2 separate regions of the Homo sapiens genome follow, and region 2 is linked to region 1. The links are contacts of gene promoters, found by promoter capture Hi-C in blood cells and fetal thymus (Javierre and others, 2016). All regions are on one chromosome and are shown on one strand. The core of a region is centred on a gene start or on the middle of the fragment in contact, and the rest is flanking DNA. Distances in the headings are between cores, read along the strand shown. Region 1 holds the start of CCT8 (chaperonin containing TCP1 subunit 8). Region 2 overlaps GRIK1 (glutamate ionotropic receptor kainate type subunit 1).

Region 1 (6,443 bases), core at 673-3,172:
GTTATTCCAGCAATAACACTTAAGTCTGAACTCCTGGCTTACACTCTTGCTTCTTCCCCTCACTCCCCATTCTGTGAGAAACTACCATTTGATCAGATCCCCTCATTCCCATACTTAAGACCCTTCAATGGTTTCCCAACCAGCTTAGGATAAAATGCAAATCCCTTTTCAAGGAAACAAGGCCCTACGTATCCCGGCCCTTGTATGGCTCCTCCTCTGAACTTACCATTCTTCCTTTCTTTGGTAAGCTTCAGCCCTACAACCTGTTGTTGTTGTTGTTGTTTTAAAAAAAAAACAGGTCAAAATCATTCCTTCCTCAGGGTCTTTGTACTAGTTAGTCCCTGAGCCTGGCATTTCCCCCTAAGTAAGAGGTCGGGGGAAACAGCCCAGGCTCAGGGGCTTCTCTCACTAAGCACTGAGCTAAGAGTTCTTCCCTAAACGTCTAAGTGTTCTGTCTATTCCTGATCCTTCTTTTACAGACATTTTTACCTCCTGTCATCCTCTACTATAGTGCAGTTTCTTTCATCATTATTTGGAATTCTCCTTTTATTTAATCATTATTTCTGCCTTAGAAGGACATAAACTCTACGACAAATGGGACTTTTGTCTTTCACTGCAGTTCCTTCAGTACCTATTTATTGAAAGAAATAGCTCAGTGTTCTGTAAAAAACTACTAGCACTGGAATGACAAATAATGTTTTGTGATACACGAGTTTTCCAAAACTGTATTAGTGAAAAAAACCCAAATTGGAAGCTATTATCTCAGCCTGATTTTTTCAAGGGAATCAGCCCATATCATTTTCAAAAGATTATTCCACCAACATTTACCTTGAACCCTGACATTTACTTACTATACCGACATTATTTGAAAAGTGCATCCTACAAACATGAACCTAGTTCTATTAAACTGTTAATGCTCCCCGTACCTCGCATAAAACCTTAAATTCAACCACACTGATCTATTTCTTGAATTAACAAAATCTGGAGGACACACAGAGGAATGCAATTTGAATAGCACAAGAGACAAATTTATCAATAGTGCAGTAAGATATTTTTTAAAACTATGCTACCGAACTAACGTTCAAGAAAAGGCCATTAAACAAAAGTGTTATCTGCACCCCTCTATCACTTATCCTGCAGATTACACAGAACTCAAAGACACCACCTCTTGGTCCAATCTCCATAATTTAAAGACGAAGGAAACAAAACCCAAGAAAGTTACATTTTAGATTAAGCCAGCTAACATAAGTTGGGACCGGAACTCATTTGGCTACAACGCATGGCTTCTGTCAACTAAGCTGAAAGCCGTATGTTTCTCACTGGGAAGCAAGCAACCAAGACCCGGCCCTTTTTCCCACTCTCTTCTCTGGATCGGCTAGTTCTCGTTCTTCCCCATCCTACAACTCGCGAGCTATGTGATAATCGACGTCGCAGTTCTCAAGACAATTTCATCTACGTTATTCAATTTCACCCTCACAACCTCCTTTAAGGGTGACGGGCCTTAGCCCCATTTACGGATGGAGGCAAAACGCACGCGCGGCTTCACATCCGTCCACCTTCAAGGTGTACAATGTCGATCGTGCCGCCGATCCCTCGGCCTTCTCCCGGTCGCGGAAGAAGAGAAGTGCCCGCAGGCTCCGGTGGCCGAGCCCTTCCAAAATCACCTCCCTTTCTGGAATCTTCTCTTCCCCCGGCCGCTGAGCCAGGGCAGCACGCTCAGCCCGTTAGTAGGCCCTCCTACTTCGCCGCGGCCGCCGCAGCCCTATGCTGACGCTCCCACCTCATTCCTTTCCTTCAGCCCTTACTTTCGCTCCCTCCTTGAGCATCTGGGCAAAGCCCGGAGCCTTGGGAACGTGAAGCGCCATGGCCAGCCTGCAGGAAGCAGTTCACGCGACCGCTCGGAAGACCGCGGAGGAAGCGAGGAGCACGCACAGCCTTCTGGGAAAGCAGCGTGGGGCCGCCTCACGCTCTTCCTGGCTCTCCAATTAGCCCACCCTTTCCCTGCCGCCAGGTCTGAAGCATCGCGAGAAGAGCAACCTCTGTGGCCAGAACCAAGCTGACGATCCCCGATCGGGTCGATCGATAGGGCGGGCCCAGGGAGCCCCTCGGGTTTCTGGCTCACGCACGCGCAGACAGCCCAGGCCGTGAGAGGTTGCTCCAGTCTGTGCTCTCTGACCGTAGTCAGTAGTCACGGCGTTAGATTTTTGCGGTTTTTGATCTGGAAGCCACACATCCTTAGCTTAATTTCCACGTATCTTCCAGACCCAGCCACCAACGTCAGGGCAGGTGTGCTTTTTTTTTCCCGAGGCAGAGCATCTGCCCCATCCCCCAAAATTGTCTCTAGGCGTCCGCTCTGTGTTGGGCACCATAGGAAGCGCTGGGAATGCGCACGATAATTAAAGTCGTCACTAAGAGTAATGTAGTACACATCAAGTGCTCAAGTGTGCCATATTCTGTGTGATCTGCTTTACATGCAGTATCTCTGTTAATGGTCAGTCTTAAAAATTAATGAATTGTCGGTTAAAATACCATTTAGTTTTCCTTCCATAAAATGGAGACGATACCATTAAAAATTAAAAATTAAATGGTACTGTCTCTATTTTGTAGAAGGGAAACTGAAGTTCACAAACTGTAAATAATTTTCCCAAGATCACAGAGCTAGTAAATATTAAAGCTAGAATTCCTATCTAGATCAGACTTATTGCAAAATGCCGGTTCTTAACCACTATCTATATTCCTCTTTTCTACTTCTTCCTGGGAATATAAATCCCTTTTACTCTTTTAAGATCAGATATAAATACATATTTATTTATCTGATTTATATATATAATATACACATTTTATATAAATATATCTGATTTATATATGAATTTATAGATAAATATAAATCCCTTTGGCTTGGTGGCATGCACCTGTAGTCTCAGCTGCTTGGGAGGCTAAGGTTGGAGGATCTGCTTGAGCCTGGGAGGTTGAGGCAGCAGTGAGCTGAGATCATGCCACTGCACTCCAGCCTGGGCAAGAGTGAGGCCCTGTCTCAAAAAAAAAAAAAAATTGCAAAAATGTAAATGCCACTGATATGGTTTGGATTTTTGCAAAAATGTAAATGCCACTGATATGTTTGAATTGCCTGCCCAAATATGATGTGGAATTATAATCCCCAGCTGTTCTTGTGATAGTGAGTGACTTCTCATAAGACCTGGTTGTTTAAAAGTGTGTGGCACCTCCCCACTCTGTCTCTTCCTCCTCCTCCAGCCTTGTAGGATGTGTCTGCTTCCCCTTCACCTTCCACCTTGATTGTCAGCTTCCTGAGGCTTCCCCAGCCATGCTTCCTGTACCGCCTGTGGAACTGTGAGCCAATTAAACCTCTTTTCTTTATAAATTACCCAGTCTCAGGTAGTTCTTTATAGCGATTCGAGAACGGACTAATACAGCCACCCTTTTCATTCTTGGAAAATAGAGATATTTTAAATAAAAACATACATATTATCATGTGATAGGATTATTATTTTTTAAATAACGTTAAAAATTTATCAGTTTTAATTTCTAATATAGCAAATATTCATACCTATAACCCACATAAACAAAAGACCTTTGGGGAAGTTAATTTTTAAGAGTCTAAAGGTGTTCTGAGACTGATACGTTAGAGAACTACTGTAATGATCAGTCCCGAACAACAGAACAATCCAAGATTTTTCCTGGATTAGCTAAGAAATAAACAAAAGCACATTCCTCTGACTCAGAGATAATATTACTTATAAAAATAGCTAACACAAAATAAAATTGAAATAAAACTGAAAGGAGCTAAAATGACACCTGATTAACATATTAATATATATTAATCTATATTTAAAGTGACTTTGAGGCCTAGGTTCTGGTCCTTGTCTCACTGGTATCTTCTCCATTTGGCATTAATGTCTTGTATTCTGGCCCCAGTACCTGGAATAGTTCGTGCTGTCTGCTTTACCACTTCTGCCTCAGGGTCTTTGCCTCTGCTGTTCTTCCTACCTAAAATGCTCTTCTATTCCCTTATGGCTGAATTAATTCTACCTCAGTATGCAGACACTTTCATTAGAAAGTCTTTGATGACTCCCAAGACATTCCCTGTTTGTCATTCTCATAGCTTCTGTGTTTCTCCTTCATAGCACTTACCACAGTTGTAATGACAGAATTATTTGTCATCTTTCTCCACCAGCAGGTAGGTGGTGAATCACCAGCACTTATACTGTAATTGGACAATGCACGGAGTAAGGAGTCAATAAATCATCATCAAATGAACTACTGGGTGACCAAATGGATATCCAGAAGAGGAGATCGAAGAATTAAGGTGCTGTGGTCTCAATGTTTGTGTCCCTCCAAAATTCATGTTAAAATCTTAGGCCCTGAAGTGATGGTATTACGTAGGGCCTTTTGGGAGATGATTAGTTCATTAGGTCTCCACCCTTATAAAAGATTAGCGCTCTTATGAAAGAGGCCCAGGGGAGCTTATTTGCCTTTCCACCATGTGCTGACACAGCTAGAAGGTACTATCTATGAACCAGGAAGCAGGCCCTCACCAGACACTGTATCTGCTAGCACCTTGATCTCGGACTTCCAGCCTCACGAACTGTGAGTAACACATTTCTACCGTTTCTAAGCCACCCAGTTTGTAGTATTTTGTTATAGTGTGTCTGGAATTGGTGGGTTCTTGGTCTGACTGACTTCAAGAATGAAGCCGTGGACCCTCGTGGTGAGTGTTACAGTTCTTAAAGGCGGCGTGTCCGGAGTGTGTTCCTTCTGATATTCGGATGTGTTCGGAGTTTCTTCCTTCTGGCAGGCTCGTGGTCTCGCTGGCTCAGGAGTGAAGCTGCGAACCTTCGCAGTGAGTGTTACAGCTCTTAAGGCACGTCTGGAGTTGTTTGTTCCTCCCAGTGGGTTTGTGGTCTCGCTGGCTTCAGGAGTGAAGCTGCAGACCTTTGCAGTGAGTGTTACAGCTCATAAAGGCAGTGAGGACCCAAAGAGTGAGCAGCAGCAGGATTTATTGCAAAGAAAAAAAAAGCTCCCACAGTGTGGAAGGGGACCCAATCGGGTTGCCACTGCTGGCTCTGGCAGCCTGCTTTCATTCTCTTATCTGGCCCCGCCCACATCCTGCTGATTGGTAGAGCCCAGTGGTCTGTTTTGACAGGGCGCTGATTGGTGTGTTTACAATCCCTGAGCTAGACACACAGGTTCTCCATGTCTCCACCAGAGTAGCTAGATACGGAGTGTCGATTGGTGCATTCACAAACCCTGAGCTAGACACAGGGTGCTGATTGATGTGTTTACAAACCTTGAGCTAGATACAGAGTGCCGATTGGTGTATTTACAATCCCTTAGCTAGACGTAAAGGTTCTCCACGTCCGCACCAGACTCAGGAGCCCAGCTGGCTTCACCCAGTGGATCACGCACTAGGGCTACAGGTGGAGCTGCTTGCCAGTCCGCCGCCGTGAGCCCACACTCCTCAGCCCTTGGGTGGTTGATGGGACTGGGCGCTGTGGAGCAGCGGGCGGCGCTCGTCGCGGAGGCTCGGGCATGGCGGGCTGCAGGTCCCTAGCCCTGCCCTGCAGGAAGACAGCTAAGGCCAGGCGAGAAATTGAGCACGGCAGCTGCTGGCCCAGGTGCTAAGCCCCTCAACTGCCCGGGGCCGGTGGGGCCGGCAGGCGGCTCCGAGTTGCGAGGTCCGCGGGGCCCACGCCCACCCGGAACTCACGCTGGCCCGCAAGCACCGCGCGCAGCCCCGGTTCCTGCCCGCACCTCTCCCTCCACACCTCCCCGCAAGCTGAGGGAGCCGGCTCCGGCCTCGGCCAGCCCAGGAAGGCGCTCCCACAGCGCAGTGGTGGGCTGAAGGGCTCCTCAAGTGCCGCCAAAGTGGGAGCCCAGGCAGAGGAGGCGCCGAGAGCGAGGGAGGGCTGTGAGGACTGCCAGCACGCTGTCACCTCTCAATAGCAGCCCAAACAGATTAAGACATGGGAGGTATGGTCTCTATTCTTACCATCCAGACGTATGTGAAGTAAAACCAGAGAACAACACAAAGCAATCAAGAGGGTTTTTGCGCAGAGTTTGCAAAACGCCAAGGAGACTGTAGGTTTCTGTTATAGTGATTCAAAAGCCTGGGATCCTCATGTTAGGTGCTGCCTGAAAACATGGCCTCCAGCCTCCAGGAGAGCTAAAAGCCGTGAGGATTGGGGGTTGGGGATGTCTGAGCCATCTTAGGATTCTGATAAGGACTCAGTTCACTATTTGTTTCTAGTTACTTTGTTTCTGTTTTTTTCATTTTTTGTTTGTGTTAAAGTTTTAACCCCTGTACGTCAGAATTGTTTAATGTTTTTGGCTTGTCTATGTGTTTTGATTTTTTTTGTATTATTATTTAATTTTCCCAATTCCCATTAAATCCTTAACCTCCTGACTTTTCTTTTTCTGCCTCCATT
Region 2 (6,907 bases), core at 3,598-6,097, 760 kb after region 1:
CAATCCCACATTTTTCCTCTACATTGCCCTAGTAGAAGTTCTCCATGAGGGCTCCGTCACTGTAGCAGGCTTCTGCCTAGACATCCAGGCATTTCCATACACCCTCTGAAATCTAGGCAGAGGCTCTCAAGTCTCAACTCTTGCCCTCTGCACAGCCACAGGCTTAACAGCACATGGAAGCCATCAAATCTTATGGGTTGTACACTCTGGAGCAGTAGCCTGAGGTGTATCTGGGGTCCTTTTAGCCATGGCTGGAGCTGGAGCTGCTGGGATGCAGGGAACAGCGTTGTGAGGTTTTACAAGACAGTAGGGCCCTGGGCCCAGCCTGCAAAACCATTCTTCTCTCCCAGCCCTCTGGGCCTGTGACAGGAGGAGATGCTTCCTTCAAGGCATTTTTTCCCATTGTCTTGGCCATTAACTTTGACTTCTTTTTAGTTATGCAAATTTCTGCAACTCGCCTGGATTCATTCCCAGAAAATGGGTTTTTCTTTTCTACCACATGGCTGGGCTACAAATTTTCCACTTTTATACTCTGCTTCCCTTTAAAATATAAGTTCCAGTTCCAGATCACTTATTTGCTCACAAAGACAAACATAGGTTGCTAGAAGCAGCCAGGTCACTTCTTGAACATTTTACTGCTTAGAAATTTCTTCTGCCAGATATCCTAAATCATCACTCTCTGGTTCAAAGTTCCATAGATCTCTAGGGTAGGGGCACAATGCCTCCAACTTCTTTGCTAATGCATAAGAAAAGTGACCTTTGCTTTACTTCCTGATAAGTTCCTCATCTCCATCTAAGACCTTTTCAGCCTAGACTTCATTGATGATATTACTATCAGCATTTTGGTCACAATAATTCAACAAGTCTCTAGGAAGTTCCAAACTTTCCCTCATATTCCTGTTTTCTTTTAAGCCTTCCACTTTTTTCCAACCTCTGCTCATTACCCAGTTCCAAAGTCACCTCCACATTTTTGGGTATCTTTATAAGAATGCCCCACTCCCAGTACCAATTTTCTGTATTAGTCAGTTATCTCATTGCTGTAAAGAACCATCTGAGACTGGGTAACCTATAAAGAAAAGAGGTTTAACTGACTCACAGTTTTGCATGCTGTAAAGGAAGCATAGCTAGAGAGGCCTCAGGAACCATACAATTGTGGTAGAAGGTAAAGGGGAAGCAGCTCATCTTACATGGCTGGAGAAGGAGGAAAAGAGATGGAGGGTAGGTGCTACACATTTATAAACAAGCATATCTCATGAGAACTCACTCACTGTCATCAGAACAGCAAAGGGGAAGTCTACCTCCATGATCCAATCACCTGCCACCAGGCCCTTCCTTCAACATGAGATTTGAGCAGGAACACAAATCCAAACCATATCACCCCCTACCCATACACACACCACACACACACTCTCTCAACAAGGTGGCTCCCAGGCATCCTTCAGATTTCACAGCACACACCACTCCCCTTGGAAACCATTTCTTAACTGCCATGAATATGGAGAATCTCCATGCTTTCACAGCACCATGAACTTCTCCATGGCATTTATGGCAGCCCTGATTTGAACATATACATAACATACACATAAATACAATTTTATGTATAAAATTAATTTCAAGTAAAGTGCTTTATATAATTGTATACAAATGTATTAGTCTTTTGCATTACAAAGGGTTTATTGCAAACCTATCACATAGTAAACTCTTAAGGTAGGTTTATTGAAGAAAGAAGTGAATGAATTGAAAGAGAGATACATTAGGGAAATCAGATAGTATTATCCTAAATTTTGAGGACCAAGTATTTTTGCAGTTTTAGTATTTTTTTAGAACAATAATTTGATCATTTTTACTACCCTCGGTTGCAAATACATTAATTTCTCCCAAAATAGGAACTTGGAAGGAAATTTATTTTTTGAAAACTATTAAACAGAAGTGGCAATATTCTTATATATATATAAAAATATATATATTTATGTATTACATATATATTATATATGTAAAATGATGGTTATCGAGATAATAGAAGAGATTATTCTTCTGCACTATAACCCATTACCACTACTAACCATCAGTGAAAATATACTAGAGAAACTGATGGATCTGCTTCCTTCACCCCCCACTTTGTTCTTCACTTCTTGGTCATTCTTCTGTTTACTTGGCCTTCACTTCCTACTTGGCTGTCTAAGAGTGATAAAGAGCATGGGCCTTGAATTCTGGCAGAGCTGGATTCAAATCATGGCTCTGGCAGCATACTCTACCCCGAAACTTCTTCACCTCTCAGCTTTCTAATATATAACATAGCAATAAAAATTATACATCATAGTTCTTGAAAGTGTTTAATGAGTTAACATATATTAATTGCTTAGCACATTTCTGGCATTAGTATTAATATTATTAATATTAATTAATATTCATCCAATATTAATGATTTTATTTATTCAATATTAATATTGAATATTATTTTATTTATTCAATATTACAATTGAATATTATTTTATTTATTCAATATTAATTAATATTAATTATTAGTACTGGAGGGTTTTTTGTATCATTATTATTCTCACTCTTGTCTTACTTTCTCTTTCTCTGGTCTTTAGCACAGGTTTGGCTCTTCTGATTTTCACACTCAGTCTTCCTGTGGGCATAGCGTTTCTACTATGCTCTTTCTGATCACTAATGCTCCAGGTAGCAATCCACACATGCTAATGTCCTCTGTTTAGGCTTCTTCTGGACCGCACTTAACTCAATATTATTTTTCTTTCTTGATTTGATTCACTTGCAACTCAACAGTGTTTGTATTTTGTGTACTTTTGTAAGCCTCCTACAAATCTTTCTGAAATTTCATGGGGACTTACCTACCCTACTAGCCTGCAGCACCCAGCAGCATCCCCTGGCATTAATCTGCTCACTTAGTTCTTCTGCTGGTGGCTAGATCCTCTGCCTGGGGCAGGTCGGAAAAGTGGGAAATGGCAGAAGTTTTTTGAGAGGCGTGGCCCCAGGAGCACTAGCTCTGGGTTAAAGTCCTAACATAACTGGTCTTGTTTCTTTGTCTCTGGTCTTTTTTCTTTGTTTCTCACATGCTTTTATATTGCTCTGAGACTGTTCATCAAATCCACTCATCAAAACCTTGTGGAAAACACAGTTGTTTCAAGAGTTTGCTAGAGCCTCTGAATCCCACAATCCCATAATGCACATCTCCAAACAACTGATCATTTGTTGAGGACATTTTAGGGTATTAAAACAGTCAGTGCAGGGAGGAATTCTGGGGCTTCAAACCTCTCGGGATCTTTAAGGCTATATTTTATATCCTATAAATCCATCTGGTCTTGGGCCCTAAACACAGATAATATACTTTTGCCCTGTTGTTTGCTGAAGAAGCCATATTTCAGAATAACCCAATGGGCAATAATGATTATTTCCTCTATTTTTTTTAACTTATTAACTCATTTTGTCGTTGCTTTATAAAAGCTAAGTCCAGAGCTAGCAATTGCTTGGTGATTTTGGTACAGTCTGATTAGATAATTCCGGCTTAAAGTAACCTGTTCCTCAACAGCAGGTTTGTTTTCCCCAACCACGCAAATATTCATTCCTTTCTGACTTGATGGCAATAGACACACTTTGGTGAAAGAAAGCTGTGGGAGAAACTGTTCCTTGGAAAGCAATAGCAGGCTGCACTCTTCACCAAGCCTGGCAGGCTGCTGCCCACTGTTCTATTACAAGCACATTCATTTCAGTCGGTCAGTGCACTGTCCTTTGTAAAGTAAAGAGTATAATTTCTTAGATATAAAAAGAAAGCAGAAATCTACCAGCAGGAAATTGAACTGAGGCACTGGGAAATTTAAGAGAAAATTGTATTATTTCTTTCTGTTTTAATACAATGGATAAACCAATCATGAGAAATAACATTCTCTTGGGGCCAAGTAGGGAAAGGATAGCTATGTAAAAGTACTAAGTCAGATGATCAGTCTCTAGAAATGCTTATGATACACAGAGACAGACACACGTCCCCTGGCTTATTTGCAGATGTTAATTTTAGGTTATTTTTATGCAGTATAGCTCCTTTTATTTCCTAACCAATTTACTCAACTCTGGGAAAAGTCCCTATGTACAGTGGAACAATTATTAGGATAATTATAGTAAAACATATACTAAATAAATTTTCTGCTAGGCAGATTAAAAATAAGATCCACTCTGATTTGCCATTGTTGCCTGTGAATTATAAGTTTATAAACATGAAAGTTGGATATTTTGATAAGTATATATTTAATAGATAATGCACACATATACATGTGTAATGTTGCATATATATATATATTTACACAGACACTATCATAAGCCCACAAATCTCACATCATGAGAAATCAGACAAATATTACATTAAATTCTAACGTGTCCATACCTTTCTTAATGCTAAAAAATGTAATTTCATTGATAGTGTAGAAGTATAAAGCTTAGTTATCTTCTTTCAAAATTCTCTTCTATTAAAATGGGGGCTGAGAGGAAAGAAGAAGCCACCTACATTTTGTCTCTAGGAGCCAAGAAAATTATGCTTTAGATATTGCCCACAGTTTTAGAGATAAAGTCCAACTCTCACCTTAGGCATAAAGTCCCTCATGATCCAGCACCTGCTTTTTCTCTAGCTGCTTTGGCACTTGGGACCCTTCACCGTAAGTACACCCTGATGCAGTCTTCAAAATCTGAAATGCTAGTTCATACCCTTTTCACATGCTTTTCTGAATGGGATGTAATCGTTTTTTGGATAGCTAAGCTGAAATTGTAATTCAAAATTAATCTTTTCTGGTTTTCACACCCCTTATATTTTCTGGTATCTCTCTCTCCTACAAGGAGAGTTGTTAGAGTTCAGGAACTTCATCTGCAATGATCTTGTGTTTCCTGACACCGTTTTGGCACATAGGGGAGGCTCTACAAGTGTTTATTGAGTAAAAGAATAAATGAGTGATTGACAATGAACTTCCTCATTTCTCTTCCGAAAGCCTTTAGCAGCATCTGATGCTTCTTAACATAGTTATGTCCAGGGAAGAACAACTTCTAGATATTTATAACTCATTGTGAATATAATAAATATGTGATTATATTGAGTTAGAGTCACAGGAGGCAGGACTATGAGAGCACTGAGAAACTGAAGAATAGGAGGACTAGGCAACCACCAATGGGGGGGAATGACAGCAAAGAGAAGTCTGGGAAACAAAGACAATTTTCCTATAGAAGACTACTTTTTGCTAGAGTCAGCCAAGCTTATGAGCATATAGTTCATATTTAAATCTAAATATTTTAGAATATATGAAGAATAAACCAGAAGAAAATACATTTGTTTATAAATATATCAAACTTAAAGCAGACCCACTGTGATCATAAGATTTAGAATATAAAAAACTTACCGTTTAGTAAACAGTGCCACTGTTCCACATTAGTGGTACTTGGGTAAAAACACACAATAGTCTTATACAGTGTGGCTTCCAAAGCCCCGAGTGTGGAGAAGCCCCCAGTATTCTATATTTTGCCCCAAGAAACTTTATATTTCTGGGAAAACTAAAATCCACCTTCCAGTATTCTAAGTAGAAATGCAAATTTCATAATTTTGGAAAGGGAATAGGTTTGATTATACACTAAGAATCTGAAGAGGAAGATGGTTCAAAAAGTTAAAAGTGAAATTTTATCTATATGTTTCTAAATGATTTCAATAAAGGAGAAAAGAGGAAACTTCTTAAATTAATAAGCAGGTTTGCAAAAGACCCATTCAAAGAATTTCTGCATTAAAAGCTCATTGGGTCCATAATAGGATAAGAGGAATCAGCCCTTGATTCAGTAGCGAATATAGTATCATAGAAGCCCATAGGAGGAGTGCTGGAAGTCAAAGTTCTAACCAACTGGGGGCTGCAGAAACTGAATTGGACAACCAAGAAGATAGTTTTGTATTTTAAACTATGAAGAGTACTAAAGCTCTCTGAAGAACTTCAATGAAGACGGATATCACAGAAAAAAAAAAGATTCCTCATTGGCCATTTAGCTTCCATCTTGTTTGTACTGAAAAAAACTCAAAAGGTGAAACAGTTATTAGTAAGTGGGAACTGAAATCCATGATGGATTAAGAAGTTGTAAGTGACTCCTGCCCCTACTCACTCTTCTGCTGCTCTCCGGGAGTTCTGGCTCCTAGTTTAACTGGGTTGAACTCAAAGATATTGCCTGCCTGCAAGACTTCAGAAACAGCAGAACTAGTAGGTCTAAGAGAAATCACAGCAAATAATAGAAGACTGGTGAAGGGCAAATCACTATCTAGTTTTCAGCAAAATAACGTGGATTTTACAAGCCAAAGCTCTGAGTTTGATACTGATTACAGCAGAGACTCTAAAATTATTAAAGAATGTCCTGTAATCTCTTGTAATAAAATAACAGTTACAAAGATCTAGCATGGTTTGCCTGAAAAAAGAAAACATGAAAACAAGATTCATCACTTTCTTTGTCACAAGTTACTAACCTCACAGATCACAGAAATTTATTTGGTGGTGCTTAAATTGTATGAAGGAATCTGACATACCTTTTCACTATTTGGTGGACAAGATGGAAAAAAAAGGAATTTAGGCAAATTATTAAACGAAGTAAGCTACTATACTTGAAGAGTACAAATTAATGAATAAATATCATACTATAGGGATTTCTTTTCTTTTCTTTTCTTTTTTTTGAGGCAGAGTCTCACTCTGTTGCCCAGGCCAGAGTGCAGTGGTGCGATCTTGGCTCACCACAACCTCCGCCTCCCAGGTTCAAGCGATTCTCCTGCCTCAGCCTTCCATGTAGCTGGGACTACAAGCACATGCCACCATGCTTGGCTAATTTTTGTATTTCTAGTAGAGACAGGGTTTCATTATGTTGGCCAGGCTTGTCTCAAACTCCT

What was found. The method cuts DNA at HindIII sites, captures the fragments that hold promoters and counts their contacts. A CHiCAGO score of 5 or more calls a contact.
Region 2: a contact is called between a fragment that was not itself captured here and the fragment with the promoter of CCT8 in region 1, in 3 of 17 cell types (naive CD4 T cells, M2 macrophages and M0 macrophages). The highest score is 6.3, in naive CD4 T cells.

Annotation. Positions count from the first base shown.
Region 1 is chr21:29,071,726-29,078,168 of GRCh38, forward strand. It overlaps CCT8 (chaperonin containing TCP1 subunit 8), which reads right to left and starts at 1,923. Exons shown (of 15, transcript NM_006585.4): 1 at 1,806-1,923. The coding sequence starts at 1,865. It also overlaps a transcript of MAP3K7CL not described here. RefSeq lists enhancers at 995-1,906, 1,359-1,528, 1,907-2,818, 1,979-2,148, 3,695-4,894. The HindIII fragment of the contact is 10,437 bases long and covers 247-6,443 here.
Region 2 is chr21:29,832,371-29,839,277 of GRCh38, forward strand. All of the region lies in intron 1 of GRIK1 (glutamate ionotropic receptor kainate type subunit 1), which reads right to left. Among named protein-coding and RNA genes, the nearest start is that of GRIK1-AS1, 88 kb to the left of the region's middle. RefSeq lists a silencer at 1,178-1,378. The HindIII fragment of the contact is 805 bases long and covers 4,446-5,250 here.